Linked DNA regions of Homo sapiens: region 2 is linked to region 1. Evidence: promoter capture Hi-C in human tissues and cell types (Jung and others, 2019). All regions are on one chromosome and are shown on one strand. The core of a region is centred on a gene start or on the middle of the fragment in contact, and the rest is flanking DNA. Distances in the headings are between cores, read along the strand shown.

Region 1 (4,153 bases), core at 1,145-3,644:
GCTGGGGCATAGAGGTGAGTGCAGATTGAGGGAGAGGGGCTCCACAGAACAGCCACAAAGGGAGGATGACAGTGGGATGACACACAGCAGGCAGCAACATGGAGAGTGATCCGCAATCAATCTCACTACTCAGAAGTGAGGAGCTTTGCTCTCCAAAAGGAGTGTTAGCTGGGACCAGCGCCAGCCCTATTGGTGAGAGGGCAGGGCTTGATTTCCCTCAGCCATAGTCCCTTTATGTCTCTGCACATTTGCCCACACAGTCTCCAAGACCTAGGATGCCCACCCCCAATCCCTATCCCTCCCTGCCCTTCCTTTGCAGATGCGGATCTCCCCTTGGTCATTCAAGGCACTGCTCAGGCATCTTATGCAAGAAGGCGTCCCAGGTTGCGAAGGTGACTCAGACGCCTCCTTTGGGACTCCAACACCCTTCCCCGGCAGAGCCCCTGCCTGTCTGCCTCCGTGGTGTCAGGTTTTGTGCCCTCTACTCACTAGATTGTGGACACAGAAAGCGCTGGTGCTGTCAAAACCACTTCTGGGTTGCCGGGCGCGGTGGCTCACACCTATAATCCCAGCACTTTGGGAGGCCAAGATGGGCGGATTGCTTGAGCCCAGGAGTTCAAGACTAATCTGGCCTACATGGTGAGACCCTGTCTCTATAAAAAATGCAAAAATTAGCCAAGTGTGATGACATGTACCCGTAGTCCCAGCTACTCGGGAGGCTGAGGTGAGAGAATCGCCTGGGGAGTTCGAGGCTACGGTGAGCTGTGATCACCACTGCACTCCGAAAGAGTGAGACCTTGTCTCTAAATAGATAAATAAAACTACTTTGGGGGACTCGCTCCTCCAGCCCCTGCACCGATTGGCTCCCATTCAAAGGAGTTCAGCCCTAAGTGCCTCTGCAGATCTTCCACCCCCACTCACAAACCCGTAGGAACCCCGGCCGTGTATCAGGCCCAGAGCTCTGATCCTGGGGAGGTCCTCAGATTCGTAGACAGGAGAGGGAACAACTGGACACCTGTTGCCTGACCTTGGTAGCCACAAGGGGCGCTCGGGAGGTGGAACCCGCAGAAGCCCCGCCTCCCGGAAGCGGAGCAGTCAAGGGGCGAAAGGATGCGCCGACTGATTGGTTGATGGTGATGTCATAGGGACCGTTCGGGGCGGGCCAGAGGCCTTGGCCAGGAGTTCCTCGCCTGTTAGAACCAGGATCCACCCCATCGCGGGAGCCGCACCCTGTGGAGCGTTCTGGGGTCCCGGCCCTGACCTCTTCCTGGGCTTCGGGATGCCCGCGTCCTCTGCACCCGGCGCTGCAGCTCGTTATCGATTCCGCCTTTGGAGGCCGGTCCGTATAGTGTACCTCCCGGACTCTCTCACGGTTAGCCGGCAACCCGCGGAGCCCCCTCCCCCATGCGATGAGTCCGCCGTGAGGGGCGGGGCCTCCCATTGTGCCAATAGAAACAATGACTGACCGATTGGAGTGCTCCGCGTTCACCCCTCGCCTCCGCTCCTCTCGTGACGTCTGTTGCGCCAGGTCCACCCATTGGCCTGGCGAGACCGGCGCGTGCCAGGAGTTACGCAGGGAGAGCTGGAATGCACCGAGGGTGGGGGGAGGACTGAGTTTCTGTGTCAGTCCCTTCAAGGGGTTAAGGCATGCGGTCGTGACGGACGAGGGGCGGGGACCCGAAGAAGCGGGGCCCGCAGCCATGGGGCAACGCCGGGCTCCACGTGGCATCCCAGAGCACTCGGGACTCGCAGCCTGGGAGGGGGTGCAGCCTCCAGTGAAGGGGCCCCGAGCCCGGGAGACTGCTGGGGACCAGCAAGGCAGGGAAGAATTTGGCCTCTGCTCCCGCCTCGGGAGGGTCATCTCTGGTCCCTGCTCCGCAGGGGCGATCCAAACAAGCAGGTGGTCGCGACATGTTTCATAAAACTAGCTGATGGGATAGTTAAAGCTATTGTTCGGGGTGCTGGCACCCCAGACCCCTCTCCAGCCATCGTCCCCTCTACCCCAGGATTTCACACAGTACCCCCTCCCAGAGCTATGAGAACGCTCATGGGCACCAAAATTTCAGACCAAAATCCGGGACACGGTTCAGAACTAGTGGTCAGGAAGGGGGAACAAGAGATCTGGAAGGACAGAAAAAGGCTGGGAGACGGAGCTGGGACAGCGCCCTAGAAGGAGGGAGGTGGGTGAAGGCGGCGACCGAAAGTGGGGAGGGCGGACCCAACGACGGCGAACCTTCGCGCTCTGTTCAGCACCAGGAGCAACGCTCACGTCCTCAATAAAGATGGCGGCAACATCTTCGGTCCTCAGAGCTGCCATGCGCGATGGGTTGTACCACCGTGTTTCGGGCGCCGGGGCAGAGGTGGAGCGAACCATCGGGGCGGCCGGGAGCCATGTTGGAGCGGCGGGAGGCGGCAGCAGCGTCGGGGATGCTGTGGTGGGGGCGGAAAAAGCCAGGGCCGCACGCCGGAGGGGCTCCGGCCGCGGAGTAGATGGTGCCCAGAGGGCGGCGGGGGTGCGGAGAGACAGGCGGAGGGGCGGGGGCCCGGGGCGGCGGCAGGGGCCCGGGAGGGGGCCCGAGCGGCGGGGCCAGCCCAAGGCCCGGACCGGGGCGGGGGGCGGTGGAGGCCGTGCAGGGAGGCGGGGGATGATGGCGAGGCGGCCGCCGTGGCGGGGCCTCGGGGGACGGTCGACCCCCATACTCCTGCTCCTTCTCCTCTCTTTGTTCCCCCTCAGCCAGGAGGAGCTGGGGGGCGGTGGGCACCAGGGCTGGGACCCAGGCTTAGCTGCCACTACGGGGCCAAGGGCGCATATCGGTGGCGGAGCCTTAGCTCTTTGTCCGGAGTCTTCCGGGGTCCGGGAGGATGGGGGGCCTGGCCTGGGGGTCAGGGAGCCTATCTTCGTGGGGCTCCGAGGGAGAAGGCAAAGCGCCCGGAATAGTCGAGGGCCCCCTGAGCAGCCGAATGAGGAGCTGGGGATTGAACACGGCGTCCAGCCATTGGGCAGCCGCGAACGAGAGACAGGACAGGGACCAGGGTCTGTGTTATACTGGCGCCCAGAGGTCTCCTCTTGCGGGCGGACAGGACCTTTGCAAAGAGGTAGTCTGTCACCAGGGGCTCTGTCCTCAGGGGTCCCGGGCTCGGGGAACAGCTCGCCCCTCCCTTCAGACTTTTTGATTCGGCACCACGGTCCCAAGCCGGTGTCCTCCCAGCGGAACGCTGGGACAGGCTCCCGCAAAAGAGTGGGCACCGCGCGCTGCTGTGGGGAATTATGGGCAACAGGGAGCAAGGGTCAGGGCGAGAGAGCCACGACATCCGGAGCAGAAAGGACAGCCCCCCGGCGGAACTGTCTTCCAGGGGCCTCGGGATCTGGCCCCGAGCTGGATTCAGCACCACGCACGGCGAGGACAGCTCCTGCATCAGGTTCAGCACCCCGCGAGTCTCGGACAGCTCCCGAGCCGGCGCCCAAGCGCATGCGCTCCCGGGGTCTCTTCCGCTGCCGCTTCCTCCCGCAGCGCCCCGGGCCGCGTCCCCCGGGACTCCCGGCCCGTCCTGAAGCCAGGAAAGTAACCTCGGCGAACCGGGCACGCTTTCGTCGCGCCGCAAACCGCCACCCGCAGTTTCCGCAGTACAACTACCAGACGCTGGTGCCGGAGAATGAGGCAGCAGGCACCGCGGTGCTACGCGTGGTTGCTCAGGACCCGGACGCCGGCGAGGCCGGGCGCCTAGTCTACTCGCTGGCGGCACTCATGAACAGCCGCTCGCTGGAGCTGTTCAGCATCGACCCGCAGAGCGGCCTTATCCGTACGGCGGCAGCTCTGGACCGCGAGAGCATGGAGCGTCACTACCTGCGTGTGACCGCGCAGGACCACGGGTCGCCGCGCCTCTCGGCCACCACGATGGTGGCCGTGACAGTAGCCGACCGCAACGACCACTCGCCGGTTTTTGAGCAAGCGCAGTACCGGGAGACCCTTCGCGAGAATGTGGAGGAGGGCTACCCTATCCTGCAGCTGCGTGCCACTGACGGCGACGCGCCCCCCAACGCCAACCTGCGCTACCGCTTCGTGGGGCCGCCAGCTGCGCGCGCTGCAGCTGCCGCCGCCTTCGAGATTGATCCACGCTCCGGCCTCATCAGCACCAGCGGCCGAGTGGACCG
Region 2 (4,298 bases), core at 1,099-3,598, 680 kb before region 1:
CAAATGACCTACCGTATTTTCACTGGGCCAGTTCCCCTTCCTTCACCCCCGACACAAAACATAGCTCATCTTTTCAACAGGAATAGGTAGAAAAATAAGAATAATAAAATAAAATAGACATGGCTTCTCTGTTTCTCCTCTTCTCCCTCACAGCCACCTCCATAGTGAGAGGTTCCTAATGGTTCTGTGTCTGAGTTACACCACCGTGGGCGTGAAGCACCCTCAGCCATTTTGTCTCTGCTTCAAAACTTCCTATAATGCCTGCCTGCCTTTTAAGGCAGGATATATGGTCTGTCTGGCCTCCTTTCTAGCTTTAGATCCCCTTAGGCTGTTGTAGCGTTGTAGTGCCCGCCTCAACTGGCCTAATCCCCACTCTCTGATCCTGTCCTGCCTTTTCCAGAAATTATCTTCTGGTCCCTTGAGTCTCCCCTCCTGTAACATGCATCCTCATCTTTATTCTGCCAGCATTTTTTTTCAATACCACACTCAAATGTTACTCAAGTCAAAGGCTTCCTATGAGAGCAGGGGTTGTGCCTGGCGTTCTACAGCCTTTGGTTCACACCCCCTTTTTTTTTTAGAGGGGGTCTTGCTCTGTTGCCCAGGCTGGAGTGCAGTGGCGCAATCTCGGCTCACTGCAACCTCTGCCTCCCAGGTTCAAGCGATTCTTCTGCCTTAGCCTCCCGAGTAGCTGAGACTAGGTGTGGGCCACCACTAACGGCTAATTTTTTTTTTTTTTTTTGTATTTTTAGTAGAGAAGGGGTTTCACCATATTAGCCACGCTGGTCTCGAACTCCTAACCTCGTGATCTGCCCGCCTCGGCCTCCCAAAGTCCTAGGATTACAAACATGAACCACCGCGCCGGACGCCCGGTCTTTTTTTTTTTTTTTTTTTAAGACATTTCGGTCTCCACGTTGGTCAGGCTGGTCTCGAATGCCCGACCTCAGGTGATCCTCCTGCCTCGGCCTCCCAAAGTGCTGGGATTACAGGTGTGAGCCACCGCGCCCGGCCGGTTCACACCCTTTATTTGTATTTATTTTTTTTTTTTTGAGACAGGGTCTCACTTTGCCGTCCAGTCTCAAGTGCAGTGGCGCCATCTCGACTCACTGCAACCTCGACCTCCTGGGCTCAAGGGATCTTCCTACCTCAGCCTCCCAAGTACCTGGGACCACAGACGCGAGCCACTGCCCGGCTATTTTTTGTATTTTTTTGTAGAGACGGGATTTCGCTATGTTGCCGAGGTTGGTCTCTAACTCCTGGGCTGAACCTATCCTTCCGCCTCAGCCTCCCAAAGTGCTGGGACGACAGGCTTGAACCACCGCGCCCGGCCTGGTTCACACACTTTAATGGCACTTACCACATACTGCTAGGCATTGAGGTTATTTCTGTAACATCTCTTCTTTTCTACTAGATTCTATGAGGGCAGGAACTAGGTCTTATTTTTCTCTGAGGACAAGGACTGTTAGACAAGTGTATGGAGACGCATCTAGACCAACTGCCTGACTTCCTCTTTCCTCTGGGTTTACTTCTCCCTCCAAGAGGAGGGTTGTGTGTGTGAGCGGGGCGACTGGAAAACATAGTGTTCAGGACGTTGTATCTTGTTCCAGGAACTAAGTACACGCCTGGGTAACTAATGTGGAGTACCTCTCCTTCCCCTGTTGCTATCGCCCCTCTGTGGCTGCTTGGCAAGTAGCTCAGTATGAAGAGCTGACGGAATTCTGCGGTGGGCCAGGTGGCTCTGGCGTCGACTGTTTAAGGCGACTGTTAATGACTACAACACACCATTGAGTCTTGGTCCCAAGGCGCTGGTGCACATGGTACTTCCCGAAATCCCTGTAGGGCCGCTGGAGCAGGAGCCCCGATCCCACGTTTGGGCAGCTGACTCGCCTAAGGCCTCCAGCTGAAAGCGGAATTGCAGGGGTGAGAATGAGCAGACCTAACTACCGGGCTTCTCGCACCTGGCCTGCATTTATTTAGGACCACGATAACCTCGAAGGCCAGGCTGGGGTGCCCGATGGGTCGTGGGCTTGCTGCCTAACTCCCTGAGATCGGCGGGCTGAACAGAGCTTCGAAGTGTAGCGCCATCCTGAGCAGAGGAAGGGGCGCCCGAAGGCCGCGTAGCGGGCGGCAGGGCGGGAGGAAGTAGCAGCTGCTGCTCCCCGCCCACCCCTCTCGCGTGTGCCTTTCCGCTCCACTGTTCGCCGGTGAGCTAGGTGGCGCGAGAGCGGAGGGGAGAAAAGACAGCGGCTGCAGGAGCCGAAGGCCGCGGCTCGAGGTGGGGCAGGGGCGGGCACGCGAGCGTGCGTGCGTGGGCGCGGTCTATAGCACGCCGCGCGCGGGGCGGATGTCCGGGCCGGCTGGGCCGGGGCCGCGGAGGAGATGGCGGAAGGTGGAGGCTGCCGTGAGCGACCGGATGCGGAGACTCAGAAGTCCGAGCTTGGACCCTTAATGAGGACCACACTCCAACGCGGGGCGCAGTGGTGAGCTCCCGGCTCGCTCTTCCTCTATGCAGAACCAGGGGCCGAGAAAAAGGGGCCTCCTTTTTCTCGGCTAGAGTAGGGGCTGGGCGGGGATGGTATGTAGTGACCCTGGAAGAGTAGCCTGACACCTGCCCCTCAGGAGAATAACTCCAGGATCAGCTCTGGGAAAGCGCAGGCGGGGCCTGAGTGTCGTCTCAGTTCATTTGGAGCCCTAGGGGGCGGGCCCGGCGGGGGCCAGGAGGAGGGATGTGGAGAAGGGGAAGGTTGGTGGGGACCCTAAGGGTGGGGAGAGCCCTTTACCATGAGGACTCGCCGTGTGACCTTGGGCGAAGGTGTCACAGACCTGGATTCCTCACTGTTAAAACCAGGATAGCAATATTTGGCTCACCGACCTCAGTGGGTTGAGGGGAAAATCAGAAGTAGATACTTTGTAACTTGTAAACTGCCAACAGATGTCAAGGTCAGAAGCTGAACAAATGTCTGAGAACCCCGATTATTTTGGTAGCAAGTGTCAAAAATATTTGCGGCAGCAGTGTCTTGGAGTGGGAGAGGAGGATAGCCTAGGTCCTGGAGCTAGATAGAAGATGAAGGGTCCAGAATTTAGAAGACCCAGGCTGAGTTATTAGGCATCTTAATAGATTGTTTAGTAGAGGGGACAATACTTTGTACTACTGGAGAGATTCCTGGGTGGTGTAATTGTGTAGGAGTAGAAAAACTAAGGCTAGACTTTGCATCGAGTATGATTGTTACCCATCTTGTTTGTTTTGTTTTGTTTTGAGATGGAGTTTCACTCTTGTTGCCCAAGCTGGAGTGCAGTGGCGTGATCTTGGCTCACGGCAACCTCCGCCTCCCGGGTTCAAGCGATTCTCCTGCCTCAGCCTCCCGAGTAGCTGGGATTACAGGCTCACGCCACCACACCCAGCTAATTTTTTGTATTTTTAGTAGAGACCGGGTTTCACCATGTTGGGTAGGCTGGTCTCAAACTCTTGACCTTATGATCCACCCGCCTCGGCCTCCCAAAGTGCTGGGATTACAGGTGGGAGCCACCGTGCTCGGCCCGAGTGTTACCTATCTTTAAGAAATCATTGTGGTGATGATCTGCCGAGGAATTGAGCAGGAGAATAGAAAAATTGGGGTTAGGAGGAGTACAGATAACAGCTTATGTATTCACCTTGAGCTAACCAGTTTGTGAAAGGCAGGGTAAACAGAGGTACTTTTTTTGTGTTTTCTTTTCTTTTCTTTTCTTTTTTTTTTTTTTTTTGAGAAGGAATTTCGCTCTTGTTGCCCATGCTGGAGGGCAATGGCGCGATCTCGGGTCACGGCAACCTCCCCCTCCCATGTTCAAGCGATTCTCCTGCCTCAGCCTCCCCAGTAGCTAGGATTACAGGCATGCGCCACCACGGCCGGCTAATTTTTTTTGTATTTTTAGTAGAGACGGGGTTTCTCCATTTTGGTCAGGCTGGTCTCGAATTCCAGATCTCAGGTGATCGCCCGCTGTGGCCTCCCAAAGTGCTGGGATTACAGGCGGAAGCTACTGCGCCCGGCCTAGCAGAGGTACTTTTTAAGTTAACCTCTATAGGGTTCATAAAGAATACTCAGCAGAAGTAGAGGAAGTTTAAGATAGACTAAAATCATACAGTAAAATTGTATGGAAGGTATTGCTCAAGGGATTTGGAAGAAAAATAGCATTTTAGAGATGGATGTGTTTATGGATCCTTGTGACCTCTGGGAAGCTGCCTGACCTCCTCTCACATTTGTTGGTTATAAAATTTTAAGGATGCACCAATATAATTGTTGATGCTTTGTTGCTCCACAGAGATT

What was found. Contacts are between HindIII fragments. The study calls those that stand out against the background at their distance.
Region 2: a contact is called between the fragment with the promoter of USP4 here and the fragment with the promoter of CELSR3 in region 1, in 1 of the 25 tissues and cell types used here (adrenal gland).

The regions. Positions count from the first base shown.
Region 1 is chr3:48,661,127-48,665,279 of GRCh38, reverse strand. CELSR3 (cadherin EGF LAG seven-pass G-type receptor 3) reads left to right here and starts at 2,394. Exons shown (of 35, transcript NM_001407.3): 1 at 2,394-4,153. The coding sequence starts at 2,646. It overlaps LINC02585 (long intergenic non-protein coding RNA 2585), which reads right to left and starts at 1,512. Exons shown (of 3, transcript NR_111921.1): 1 at 1,467-1,512. RefSeq lists enhancers at 1-572, 1,069-1,428, 1,743-2,328, 2,199-2,388, 3,500-4,084 and 2 more. The HindIII fragment of the contact is 20,539 bases long and covers 1-4,153 here.
Region 2 is chr3:49,338,103-49,342,400 of GRCh38, reverse strand. USP4 (ubiquitin specific peptidase 4) reads left to right here and starts at 2,348. Exons shown (of 22, transcript NM_003363.4): 1 at 2,348-2,477. The coding sequence starts at 2,377. RefSeq lists enhancers at 1,728-1,787, 1,878-2,047, 1,678-2,177 and a silencer at 2,218-2,407. The HindIII fragment of the contact is 25,899 bases long and covers 1-4,298 here.